3 separate regions of the Homo sapiens genome follow, and all the other regions are linked to region 2. Evidence: promoter capture Hi-C in 16 types of primary human blood cells and fetal thymus (Javierre and others, 2016). All regions are on one chromosome and are shown on one strand. The core of a region is centred on a gene start or on the middle of the fragment in contact, and the rest is flanking DNA. Distances in the headings are between cores, read along the strand shown.

What was found. The method cuts DNA at HindIII sites, captures the fragments that hold promoters and counts their contacts. A CHiCAGO score of 5 or more calls a contact.
Region 1: a fragment that was not itself captured here is called in contact with the fragment with the promoter of PKP2 in region 2 in 1 of 17 cell types (M2 macrophages); the score reaches 5.5 in M2 macrophages.
Region 3: a fragment that was not itself captured here is called in contact with the fragment with the promoter of PKP2 in region 2 in 1 of 17 cell types (M2 macrophages); the score reaches 5.1 in M2 macrophages.

Annotation. Positions count from the first base shown.
Region 1 is chr12:33,528,860-33,533,327 of GRCh38, reverse strand. No RefSeq gene overlaps it. Among named protein-coding and RNA genes, the nearest start is that of SYT10, 91 kb to the right of the region's middle. The HindIII fragment of the contact is 3,435 bases long and covers 1-3,217 here.
Region 2 is chr12:32,894,663-32,899,424 of GRCh38, reverse strand. PKP2 (plakophilin 2) reads left to right here and starts at 2,648. Exons shown (of 13, transcript NM_001005242.3): 1 at 2,648-2,916. The coding sequence starts at 2,694. RefSeq lists silencers at 2,240-2,339, 2,540-2,649. The HindIII fragment of the contact is 4,432 bases long and covers 1,119-4,762 here.
Region 3 is chr12:33,588,403-33,593,115 of GRCh38, reverse strand. No RefSeq gene overlaps it. Among named protein-coding and RNA genes, the nearest start is that of SYT10, 150 kb to the right of the region's middle. RefSeq lists a cis regulatory region at 4,374-4,713 and an enhancer at 4,588-4,713. The HindIII fragment of the contact is 2,725 bases long and covers 1,672-4,396 here.

The sequences.
Region 1 (4,468 bases), core at 251-2,750, 640 kb before region 2:
TACAATGTGTTACACTTCAAAATAAAAAAAAAAACAATATTACGGTTTACATTTACTGTTAGCATTTTTATGCTTAGCTTTTTTTCTTTTTTTTTTTCCTTTTCTTGCGGGGGGCGGGGTTGTTGTTTCCTTGTTTGTTTTTGCATCAACCAATATACTCAGATTCCCATTATAACTTCATCTCCCGAAGGAAAAGAGACACTAGCAAGCAATTGTTTATACCAAGGATGAAGAATATTTATTCTAAAAATACCTGAAGTTAACAAGTAAGGACAGCTTGGCTCAGCACATACAGGGGGGAAAATACCGTTTATCTGTATCAGGCCATATGCACATCTCTTCCCTCCCCCTGTCTGCATACCTCAACATCAGACCAATTTCAGCCCTTGGATATTTGATAGAATTAAAGATGGGCATTAGCCATCACCTGTAGAGAACCTACCTCTGACAAAAGAATGAGAAACAGATATGGTTTAACATGATAGTATCAAGTGAGTATACTAGGGAATTCTTGCTTAATGATTCTGAATCTTCAAATATTTTTCTCAGAAATATGGCAATGAGGAAGTAAAGTTGTTCACATTTTTCATAAAATGAATGATGGTTCACTTATACCATACAAGGTAATAAGAATTTCATCCTCAATTTAATAAATGATATTAATTTCAATCATTTCCATGTTCTTCTTAAACACATGCAATTGATTCTGACTAAAAGCTCACCCATGGCAAACTTGATTTGACCGCTGGAGGCTAGAACTCTTAATTAGCTGTGATGTAGACACCAAAACTAAGGTTCTTTAGCTCATTTAGGTCAGTTATATTTGCTATTCTCACACCTGTACATGAAGAAAATTTTGCCTATTTCCAAACACTGATTTTTAACCCTTACAGGACTAACAGTTTTCTAGGAATATTTGCTATTCTTATTATTTCTGCTTGATATTGCCCACAGGGATGTTTTTTAGGACTAAGTATTCCCCACTTCTTTCTTTGACTTTTTGTAGCATATAAAACAAACAATGATTCACTTTTCTTTTGTTAGAGGATGCTCACCAAGCACTTCTTTATAAAATAATTTATGGTCTTTCAGCTCATTCATTAAAAAATTATATGTGTAGTAAATTTAGTGCTGAGAAGAGAACCTTCAAATGGCCCATGAAGATTGTCAGAAACCATGCTGCCTGATGAAGAGTATCTGCAAAGCATGCCCTTAAATCTTTCTGAGTTCTCAACAAAGAGTTTTACAGTCACATTCATTATACTTTTGGCTTCATCTTTATCTGGAAACTGTGTTTTCCTGATAGCACACTTGATCTTTGCCCTGATGCACTATCTTGCTTCTAGAATATACTGCTAAAAAGAGACTGAGAATAAAAAAGAGTTTCATTTTCTGTCTTTTTTTTTTTTTTTTTTTTTGAGACAGAGTCTTGCTCTGTCACCCAGGCTGGAGTGCAGTGGCATGATTTTGGCTCACTGCAAACTCCACCTCGATTGTCCTGCCTTAGCCTCCTGAGTAACTGGGATTACAGGCACACGCCACCATGCTCAACTAATTTTTGTGGTTTTAGTAGAGATGGGGTTTCCCCATGTTGGTCAGGCTGGTCTCGAACTCCTGACCTCGTGATCCACCTGCCTTGGCCTTCCAAAGTGCTGGGATTGCAGGCGTAAACCACCGCACCTGGCCGAAAGTTTCATTATCTATCTCAGCAAATCCTGGCTCCTTTATATTATCTTTAAATTCTTCATGACGATTGAATAATAGCTTCTTTATATGATATCTCTCTATCTGTACCTTATTATTAGCAACTAAAAGAAGCCTGCTGGCACTTTTGACATTCTGTCTGGAAGCTCCCTAAAATAGATCCATCAGTTCAGTACGTGAAGCTCCGGTTTTCTGTATTGCCTTGGGTGACAGTTTTGCTGTGTTTCCTATCACTACATAATGAGGAATGGCCAAGAGGACTTCTTGACTCACATGTTGGGCATTCGGGCAGGAGTGGCTGGAACAGCGGAGGCAAGGTGGGCCTCTGCTCGTAGCTTCTCCACATAAGGAGCTTAGGCTTCTTCATAGCATGGCAGTCTCAGGATAGTCAGTCTTCTCATGTAGCAGCTGCATTCCCCTAAGAAAATATTTCAGAAGACAGAAATAGGAAACTACCAGTTTCCTTCGTTCTAGTCCTGGAAACAGCCACAGAATTAGTTCCAGCATATTCTATTTGTCAAAGCAGTCAGAGACCCTACCCAGATTTAAAGGGAGGGAACACAGCCTCTCCAAAGTATGAATATCAAATAATTTGCAGCTACCTTTCATTGTCCATATTTAATCCATGCTCTCCCCCTCCCCATTCCACTGAGTTTGAATCCTGTATCCCGCCATGTAATTGGCAGGTTCATGTGGATGTCCCAAAAGCATCTGACCAAGACAAAAGCCAAACTCACTTCTCCAGTGTTTCCTGCAGTAGTGAAGGACTCTGTCACTTATCAAAAAATTGGAGGTTGTCTTTGAAACTTCTCACACACTATATGCAATGCATCACCAACTGCTAATAATTTTACTTCATATGTATCATTATTTGCTTTTTTTTTTTTTTTTTTTTTTGAGATGGAGTCTTGCTTGTCACCCAGGCCGGAGTACACTGGTGTGATCTCGGCTCATTGCAACCTCCACCTCCTTGGTTCAAGCAACTCCCCTGCCTCAGCCTCCCAAGTAGCTGGGATTACAGGTGCGCGCCACTACACCCAGCTAATTTTTTTGTATTTTTAGTAGAGACAGGTTTCATCATGTTGGCTAGACTGGTCTTGAACTCCTGACTTCAGGCAATCCACCCACCTCGGCCTCCCAAAGTGCTGGGATTACAGGCATGAGCCACGGCGCCTGGCCATTATTTGCTGTTTTTAATCTGCTAGACATCCTTTCTAGAACTGCTATTTCTTGAGAATAATTTATCATTCAGATAGAAAAAGAATTGTGAAAAATTAACAATTATCTTAGAACTGCTTATTTCTTGTTTACAAAGCCAAAAGTCAGCAAGAATCTACATATTCCCCCCTCCACTTTGATTAAAAGCTGCATAGTTTTAATTAATGTCCTACAAACCATATGAATTAAAAAATTGTAGGAGGAAGAAAAGATGGTGTTGTTCTATAAAAGAATGAATTGCCACTTATTCCTTGGACAATGAAACTGTGCTTTGTAATACAGTTTGCATAAAGCTTTAAGATAGATAACTTTGCCAATTTTAGGAAGCTGTGCTTTCTGACTGTGAACTATACCACTGAAGTTATGTAACGCTGAGGCATGATTTCAACTTCATTCCTCATTTAGCTGACTTATTTTCATCACATTTCTATTGAACTTCTGTTTTTTTACTTTTGTCCTAGGACTGTACCAAGCTAGACATACTTCTGTTTATGAAGGGGAGATAAACCACTTGCCCTTCAATTTTAATCTCCCCTCATTCTATCAAATACATTTCTTACCAAGCTGAAGTCTAGTTTTCAATCTCTGGTCCAGGCTTTCCTCTGTCATGGGTAGGCTGCCTTCTAACCCTTGGTTAGTAGGAATATTTCAACTGTTATTAGGTTTGCAGTAAGACACCATACACAAATATAACTTTTTAAGTTTAAAATGAATTAATACCGAGTGTATGTCTGTGTCTATATGTAAATATAGACACATACATTTGGCTTATAATAAAATCTGATTTGTTACTTGTTTAAATTTGTGGAATGCTATACCCTCATCACAAAATAGTAACTACTATTATTAAGTGCTCATTTTGTTTCTAAAACTCACACAATATTGCAAGATCTTTATTATTCTATAATTTTTACAGATAAAAAATCTTAGTCTCTATCTTTAAGTGACTTTTAGGTCATATAGTAAATGGTAATCTGGAATGGCCTTCATGGTGCAGCTCTTTTGATCATACAACATGAATCCCATATAACCATGGAACCATTATTTGTGTTTCTGTCATAGCCCACATCACACATCTGCCATGTACTTAAATTATTTCTAAGCATGCTTGTCTTTCCCATTGTATTTTAGAGTCCACGCTTCCCTACTTAATAGCTTTTTAACATTGCAAAATGTATAACTTCCCTATTTCTTGTTTCTCATGTATGCAAAATGAGGGGGCTGAACTAGAAAGTCTTCATGGTCCCTTTTAATCCTAGTATTCAGGAATATCTATGACGGTGAATTCCTTGGAATAAAGCATTTATTCATCCTACAATTTACAGTCCAGTGCATTGTACCTGGTAAGTATTCCATAAATGTTTATTGAGTGACATTATAATGTAAAAATAATTAGCGTTTAAAAATCCATTTATAAATGTGTTTGTTCATCACTTATTGACTAACTGCAATCTATTAGGGCATCTTATTGCCCTCAAAGAATTTCCATCCAAAACTACAACTTTTGATCCTTTTTACATGTAATAACTTATATGAATTCCATAGA
Region 2 (4,762 bases), core at 1,399-3,898:
TGAACCCAGGAGGCAGAGGCTGCAGTGAGCTGAGATCACACCACTGCACTCCCACCTGGGCAACAGAGCGAGGCCCCATCGCAAAAAGAAAAGAAAAGAAAAGGAAGTGGATCTCTGGGGACGCTGAACATATCTAATGTACTACTTATTGTTTAACTTTTATAACAACACTATTGATATGGTTTGACTGTATCCGCACCCAAATCTCATCTTGAATTGTAGTTCCCGTAATCCCCTTGTGTCATGGGAGGGACCCAGTGGGAGGTAATTGACTCATGGGGTGGATGGTTTTATAAGGGACTTCTGCCCCTTTGCTCAGCTTTCATTCTCTCTCCTGCCACCCTGTGAGAAGGTGCCTTCTTGCCATGATTCTAAGTTTCCTGAGGCCTCCCCAGCCTTGAGGAACTGTGAGTCAATTAAACCTCTTTATAAATTACCCAGTCTCATGTAGTTCTTCACAGCAGCGTACAAACAGACTAATACAACTATGTAGTAGATACTTTTATTGCTCCCATTTATAGATAAGAGAATGTACAGAGTTATAAAAATCTAAAAAAACTTGCTTGTGGCCATATACTTACAAGGGGTAAGCTAAGGTTAAAACCTAGATTTTCCTCACTCACAAGCTGTGCTTTTAATCACCTTCCCTCCCCTCAAATCACCTAACAATCCAACAACAAGATTTCTATGTGCCCAATTATTGGTACCTACCCAACAGGATAATCAATTCCAACAACACACTTTAAAAAAATTAATTTGAGAGGAAAAAAGTATCTGAGGTTTGGCTCATTAAAATAAATGAGAAAAATTCCTCTCTAGTCTCCTGGTGAGGAATCTAATTGGAGGCAGAGCTGACATTTTAAGTCATGGCTCTTCAGGTACAAAATAACAAGGAATGCCCCAACTGACCCTGTATGGACAGATACTGAAATTGTCTCTCAAAGCAGCAGATTCTGGTCTGCCAGAAGAGGCCATGAAAAGAGAGAGAGAGAGAGAGAGAGAGAAACAGGAATGTTGCTGGACGTTTCTATCATCACTTACCTTCAGTTCACCCCTCTCTTTTCAATTACATCTCAGCATCATGGTTGGATGTTTCCACCTGGCTACATAAGCAAGCTTTACACAAGGTGTAATTTGCCTAAATAGTGGTCCATTCTATTGGGGTGGGAGCAATTGCTTCCAGGACTCACATCCATATGGCTCCCACTTAGCCATGTGGCCTGCTGACAAAGGGTGGCGGAACTGTCACTACTCTGTTGTCCACGCTTTCAGTCCTTTGGTTTCCTCTTCACTCCCTGGACGCTCATGTAAAAAGGGAGGCCATATACCTGTGCATTGTGTGTCTAAGCATTCAGTGTGTGTCTAAAGGCAGAAGGGTGTGGGTAGGAAAACAAAGACGAGGGAAGCTGCGTTCTCCAAACACTTCAGACTTGAGTAAGTGGGGTTTTGCAGCAATTGAGTGATTTGAGGGAAAGTGAACATACAAACCCAAGCAATCAAAGGGAATATTATCTTAATACCAGGGATACATGTTTTTCTTTCTGCCTCTTAAGTCCAAAGAGGCAAATCAGGACAAGTGGCTTTGGTTGTAAACTTTAAGGTCAAGGATCCTTTCTGTTGAGCTTAGCTCTCAAGTTCTCAGTAGTCAACTGCGGTGAAACATAATTAATAGCACGATAAATACAAGTTGTGGAAGATTCGATTGAAAGTTGGAGGCCCTCTCCGTGGATCTCTCTACAAAGAGCCTGTAATAAAGAGGACTTAATCAACGTTAGCAGGGCTATTTAAAAAGCATCGTCTATTAAAATTCATTTCTTCTCTAGAGCCTCTTGTTGGAGTTTCTCTGTGTGGGTGTGTTCGTAAGAGAGGAATGGGTTAGCAAGAGTACTGGGTACAATTTGTGTATCCAAGAGAAAACAGAAGCTCTCAATGAGGAAGAACATATGTTTCTGGGACTGCATCTGTGCAAAAAGTACATAGTCCTGACGTTGTACTAAGAAAAAAAACACTCTCTTTAGAAAGTCTTTTATTTCACACGTTATCTTCTTGGCACATTTCCCTCATATTGCCCTTTCCGCCTGACCAAATAGCCCTTTCTCACCCTCAGGTCCAGGAAAACCAGGAAACGTTTCCAACAGTGCGACAAAGCCTGACTAACCAGACATACTACTCGCTCGGGGATCCCGGAGGCAAGCCTCAGTCCAAGAACAGGAGTGACTCTCGAGGGCTCACCTGCCTGCAGGGCAGCCCCTCCCTGCATCGAGCGGAAATCCATCCTGTCCAGCGCGGGGCGTGGGCAGAGCGGGGCGCGGCCCCGGCAGGCGGTATCCGCTGGGACTCCGACAACGTGCGCGACCCCAGGCGAACCGCGCCCCTCTCCCCACCTCCCCGCGGGCGGGTACAAGTCTCCAGGTGTCCGCGCGCTCAGCGGGTCCGGCCCGCCCCCGCCCCCGCCCCCGGGCCCGACTGCGCGTGCCCGGCCGGAGCCGCGCCCCCTCCTCAGGGAAGGCCGGGCGTCCGGCCCACGAGGCCGAGCTCCCCCCCGGCCCGGGCCTCTCACCGGCGCGGGGGGCGGGCCAGGGGCGGGGCCGGACTCGAGCGGGGCGGGGCTCGCGCCAGCGCCCCCAGCTCCGTGGCGGCTTCGCCCGCGAGTCCAGAGGCAGGCGAGCAGCTCGGTCGCCCCCACCGGCCCCATGGCAGCCCCCGGCGCCCCAGCTGAGTACGGCTACATCCGGACCGTCCTGGGCCAGCAGATCCTGGGACAACTGGACAGCTCCAGCCTGGCGCTGCCCTCCGAGGCCAAGCTGAAGCTGGCGGGGAGCAGCGGCCGCGGCGGCCAGACAGTCAAGAGCCTGCGGATCCAGGAGCAGGTGCAGCAGACCCTCGCCCGGAAGGGCCGCAGCTCCGTGGGCAACGGTGAGTGGAGCCCGCCGCTCCCCGGCGCCGCCCCCTGCCCCACACCCGGTCACCTCCTCCTATCCCGCCCTCACCCCGCGTGCTGGGAGTGCGGGACCCCGTGTTCTGCCCACCTGTTGCTCGCCGTCTTCGGTATGACCGACTTGCTTGTGGAAAGCACTCTTTTCCATAACCTATTACTCAGCTTTGTCATATAGGTACCTATGTATATTAAATATTGTACATATCTATCAATGTTAACTAACTCACTTCAAGATTTCACCCCTTTCTTTTTCTACTCCGCCGGTCCGCGCCCCTCACTGGTGCGGACTTAATTTGAAGGTTCAGGGAGTCTATAAACACCTTGAGATGCTATGCAGAATTTTTGGTGTGTACGATCTTTTTCTGGGAGAAGGAGCCCTTCAATTTTATTAGATTTGTTAAATAATTAATGACCCCCATAAATATCTTGGGGAAAAAAACCGACAGCACTGGCGCTCCTACAACCTATAAATTGGGATTGTGCTGTCTTATGCAAGTACTTCGGGGCGCTCCACCCTGTGTGGGAGGCGAGTGGTGGATCTAGGGAGTGAAGAAAAGTAGTTAGGAGGCTTTGGTCCAGGGAACAAACACGCCGAGGAGGAGGTAGGGGACTTTGGCCCTGCCGGCAACAGCCGTGCCCGCCTAGCTGCGCTTCCTACCCCCACCAGTGCGGGCGTGATGCAAGTCTGATCCCTCCAAAAAATTAAACCCGAAGGTGAAAGGGGTGTAAGCACACACATGCACACTATGTTCATGATTGATAGACGGGGGAGGTGGAAGGGAAAGAAGATGGCAAGCCACTTGTGAAAATTAGAGATCATGATGTATCCTTTTCTCCCCTGCTGAAGTCAGGTGATGGGATCAACTCAGTGACCCTTGTTTTACTTCTTGTTGCTGTGTATGTGAGTTTGCATTATAAAAGCACTATGTTGGCTTATAGCAAAAAGAAGAGGAAAGAAATTGAGCAATTAAGTTGGAATATCTGTTTCCTGCAACGTTCAGTTGTTTCTGTATGAAGTAACTTGGGCATTGGCGAATGTAGGCTAACCCATTCTAGTTTCTATTAGGAAAACAGAAAAATTCTAACAGGCCAGACCAGAGATTTCAAACAGCAGAGTCTGGGAGGCTGTACTGTGTGTGTAAAAGAATCCTAAAGGATGACGTAGTCAATATTAACATACTTGAAAGGTAAAGAGAAGATGTTCAATGATCGTAGTTAATATAACTGAGTGCATACTATGTGCCAAGAATTGGGCGATGTGGTTTGCATTCATTTGAGATATATATATATATATGTATTTAAAAACTTGTGAGTTAGGTATTTTCATCCTCATTTTACAGATGAGGAAACTAAGCAGTTAAGTAACACTGAAGCTCTAATAGATGGTAAGTGGCAGAGCTGGTATTTAAACTCCCAAACCTGAATTTTAAACTTATCAGTTTTATCATTAAGTTTTAAAATGATTAATACAAAGTGGGATTTGTTAGATGCTAAGCCTCTCCGTGGCCCCCTCCCATTTTTCTTTAAATAAAATTGAGGAAGTTCTGAAAGGCTGGGGAGGTCTAGAAAACACAGAACTGCTGCAATACATGGAGGGAAAGACCTTATATTTATTTAGACTTAGGGGTCTGACTAAAGACTGCGGGATGAGTGAGGCCAGTCTTTGAAAAGTGGAGCCATTACACCCATTCATTCTCTGTGCCCATAGGTCCAGTGCTAAACTGAAACCAAATCAGCTTCCCCTGCGTAGGAGACACAGGAGGCATATTAGATATTCTTTCTTATCCTCTGAGAATGGCCAGCTAGGAAGAGAGCAAGCAGATA
Region 3 (4,713 bases), core at 1,785-4,284, 690 kb before region 2:
TTATTAGAAGTGAAATGGAAAATTAAATTTATGTAATCCTTATTTAGAGGTTATTCTGCTTTTTTCTGAAATTAGAAGCCTAAAATCATAATCAGCAATAGAAGATGATCATAAAAATGTCATCTAAGGTGGCTGGATCGACAGGAAAACTTTCTCATTTGCAGAGTATTGCTATGGGGCTGGAGGCTGGGGCTGATTTGAAGGGTACAAGAGGTAGCCAGGTTTAGTGTTTTGTGTAGGGAAAAAAGAAAAGAAAAGAAAGATCTTGGAAGGAAGCAGACTGAAGAGGGACAGGTGAAAGGTTCAAGGAGGATTTTCTAAGTTGTTTTCCATACAATATGAGATGAAAATCTTGCATTTCAGCAATCCATGTAGAATTTTTCTTACACTTCAATTTGCTCACTAATGCTTTTCAGATAGTAGATTACTTGGGGGAGGGTAATATTAATATATATATAGGTTTTATTACTCTATATAGATTCAGTAACTAGAAACAGTTTTCTTTACTCAAAACCTAGACAATAACTGGTAACACTTCCCCCACCCTCCCATTTCCTTCTCTGTTCTCCTGGATGACACCACTGATGTGGCTCTGTGAAGAAGGGCAATAATCTCATGTCTCCAAATCCACAGATGACTTCCAGGGCATTTCCATTTGATATTGTTGATTGCTGTCTTCATTCCTACACTCCCTCCTTTTGATTTTTATTCACCATACTCGTGTGTGTGTGTGTTTGTGTGTGTGTGTGTGTGTGTGTGTATGTTTTCTCTCCTATAATACTAGCCTCTATTTTTCAGGTTCTTTTGCTGACAGCTGCTGGTTTAGAGAGCATACACGGTCTCACATTACTCTTTAAATAAAGGCCAGAACCTCTAACATGGCCAAGGAAGCCCTCACATCTGGCCCATAACTATCTCTGAAGGCCAACCGTCCTTGACTTTCCACCTTGCTCTCTATCCTTCTGCCATTCTGGCCTTTTAAACCCTTTAAATATCTTCACATTGCTTCTTGGCACAATGGTCTTTACCTGTACAGTTTCTTCTACCTGGAATGCTCCTTCCTTTACCCTTCACCTTCACCTATTTGCCCTCTATTTATTCTTAAACCTCAGCTCAAAAATTGATTCAGCAGGGAATTCTTCTCTGTCCCTACAGTCTAAAGCAGCTTCTTGTGTTATATGTTTATATATTTCAGAGCATGTCCCTCAGTTTATAACGGCATATTTATTAGCATGACAATTTGCTTATAGGGCTGACTGCCCCACTATGTTAAAAGCTTCTTGAGAGAAACAGTGTCAGTTTGGGATCATCATTTTATCTTATCACCTAGATAAGTGATTGACACATAGTAGGTGCTCAATAAAAAGTTGAATTGATTCAGTGCCTGTAGTCTTAATCTTACTGGATTTTTAAGAAGCATACCTTTCGGCTTCAAAAACATAAAACACCCAGTTCTTCCCCCAGCACCCTGACCTCTTATTCTGAGTCTCTAGCATGTTCATTTTCTTTTTCCCTGATCTTTAAATGTTTTAGCTTCTCATGATTAGGTCCTTAGTCCTTTTCTTTTCTCATTCATTACTCTTTCTAAGATGATTTAATTTAATTTAATGGATTCAGTTCCCACCCTTAGAAAGATCACCCTCAAATATATCTTTCTCACCTAGCCAAGCTTCTTCTATAAGCTCCAGATCAATTTACTTAACTACTGACTTCACCTTCCTAACTGAATATTACAACAATAAATCAAACGTAACATGTCTAAGATTTGCCTCATGGTTTTTCGGCTATAAACCTAGTATTTCTCCAGAAATCCACCTAACTGTACTAGCCAAAAGCATGTAAGATATGCTTATGGAAATAACTGCAAATATCTTTAGTTCTGCCTTGATTTAAATTATAATTGACAACAGAGGCCAGAGAATGGGATGAAAATTATTATTGACACAATTGCTTCTGAGTGTGGAAAGCACTAGCTAGCTATTATCCCTGACTTAGCTAGAAAAGCAAGGTAGTAAATACTTATGCTTCCTTTGTAGTCCTTATAGATCTGCACATTTAAAAAATATATTTTGATACTAATCATTTGTCAGTTGTGTGTAGTACATGACTTGATATTTGTCAGATTTATTGAATGATGATTTGTGAGTTTATGAGATAGCTTATGAGAGTTCCATATAAATTAAATAGTAATAAATAAGAATGATTACAGTCAGGAGTAAGTATATATAGAGAGAGATATATACAGATATTTATATATATTCCTTAGGTAGTTTTACAGGTGGGTTAGGAAAAGTACAGTCACCCTCAACTTCTCTGGATAACAAAGAATTTGATTATTAAAAATAGTCACTTACCCAAGATGAATATTTATGACAGCAAGATCACATGATTTTATTTCATTTACAACTCAGGTTCCTCTTAGAAAAAAGTGGATGGGAAAGGCCCCACTCCCTTTGAAAGAATGAGATCATTGTATTTAATAAGATCTTTCAAAGAGAGCAAGGAAAATGAAAAGCAGGAAAACATTGCAGGGCAGAAACACCTGGCTATCTTGGCCACACTCCACTTCATTCTTTACTCCAATGCACATGCCTATGTGTTTGTCCTGCCCTTTTCAATAAATGAAGAAGAATAGGTCCACTTGGTTACAAACCCATGAACTCTTCAGCTTTCACCTGTTCTGATTGTTTCTGTGCTTTGGGGAAAGGGGCGTGTTCTGCCCTTTTCCAGGTCCATGTAAGTGTCACAGAGTTCTTGTTAATCATCATTACAAAGTTTGCCCTGTCTTCTGAGGAAAAAAAATCAAATTGAAAAACCTTAAAAGTGTCAAAAATAAATTGTAAATGTGATCATGGTTGTTTCAAAATTTCTGAACATTTTCAGAGCTTTAATATAAAAGCACCCTAAGGCCATCAAATTCAAATTAATCAAAGCCTTTGCAAAGTTTAGTGCTCTATGGTCGAAGGAGTAGCAGATTCTAACATTAATCCACAGGCTTCTAGGAAGCTGATGGAAAAGAATGAAGCCCCATGTAGCTAGGTCTGCTTCCTGCCATTATTCTGTGGTGGAGAGGAAGCAGGGGTTCTCTGTGTGGATCCTTTGCAAGGAGGACCCATTAATGAAGGCAAAAATGAACATGGCTGGCGTGAGGTGGCATATGAAAAAGAGGAACTACAGAAATTTTCACACTTCCAAATGTGTTCCATGTAAAGGGCTACCTTATCTGCAGGTTCATTTTATAGTACGGTGTCATTAGTTATCACTCACTTGGCTCTCCTGCTGCTTCACACATTGTTCCTTACCCATTTCCTTTGGTGTTTCATCCTCCTCTCCCTGACTTTATGAGGTTGGAGTAGGCCAGAGCTCTGTCTTTGCTTTTCTTCTCTTCTTTATGCTCACTCTCTGTGTGGCCTCCTTCAGGCTCATGGGTTTAAGTGCCATCTATTGTGAATCTCCAGTCGAAAATGCTCCCCAACAATAGAGATTTTTTTATTTAACTGCCTACTGGAATCTCTACTTGGGTGTCTAAATACATCTCAAACTCAGAAAAATCCAAACTGAGCCTCTGATGCCCATGCCTCTGTCCCCTGAGGTGTCTCATACAGCCTTTTCCATCACTATTGATGGTCACTTCATCTTTCCATTTATTCAGGACAAAACAAAATTGAGTCTTCTTTTTCTTATGCTCTATATCCAATCTGTTAGAAAATCCTGTTTGTTTTCTATTTAAAATATATTCAGAGTCTAATTGTTTTCCATTGTTTCCACTATTACTGCTCTGCTCCAACCCACTGTCATTTCTTATATGAATGATTTCAATAGTTTCCTAATAGAACTTGTTTTTATAAGCCCAACCCCACTAAGTGAAGCCAGAGCTTAGCAGACAGATTGGTCCTTTCACCATGTATGTCAGATTACAACACTCAAATCTTGTCTCTGTTTTACTCAAAACTCTCCAATGCCTCTTCACACAATGGCCTACTAGGATCTACATCATCTGCCTGAACTACTCCTCTCTTGACATTATCTCTAACCAATTTCCCCTCGTTTATTCTACTCCAGCCACAATGCTGTTCTCAAATACTTAAGCAAATTTCCACCATATGGCTTCTGCACCGTTTGTTCGCTCTGCTTGATTATTCTTCCGCTATATATCCACATAGCTAACTCCTCACCTGTTTCTCAAATGTCACTTTCTCAATAAGCTGTACCATGCCCCTATTTAAGAGAGTGGTCCACCCCCACCAGTCCACCACTCCTGCTCATTGTCCATTCCTTTCACCCTACTTTAGTGCCACACACACACACCTGCTGCACTATAGCATTCCCAGCTTCCAGCAGATAGTACTTCTTTTTTTAATTTTCTAACTTCCTTCCCATAATAGAAATATAAGCTTCATGAAGAGAATGATCTTTGTCTTTTTTTTTTTTTTGGTAAATTTCTGATGTACTCTAACTGTTACCAGGGGGTCCCAGTTACCCCCCAAAATGGGCCTTTTCCTGTTCAGTGTCACAAGCAAGTATACGAAACTGAAAGTGAGCATTAGACAGTACAGGCTTTATCTGATGGCCATAAAATGCAGAAGTGGGAGTGTGGCTCTCAAATCAACTTATCACCTCCTGAGAGAGAACCAGGGAGTTACAGATATAGGGTATCTTCAGTGAAGGGGCTGGGCATTAAAAGCAAGCAGGGGAATATTTATGCTTTTCTTG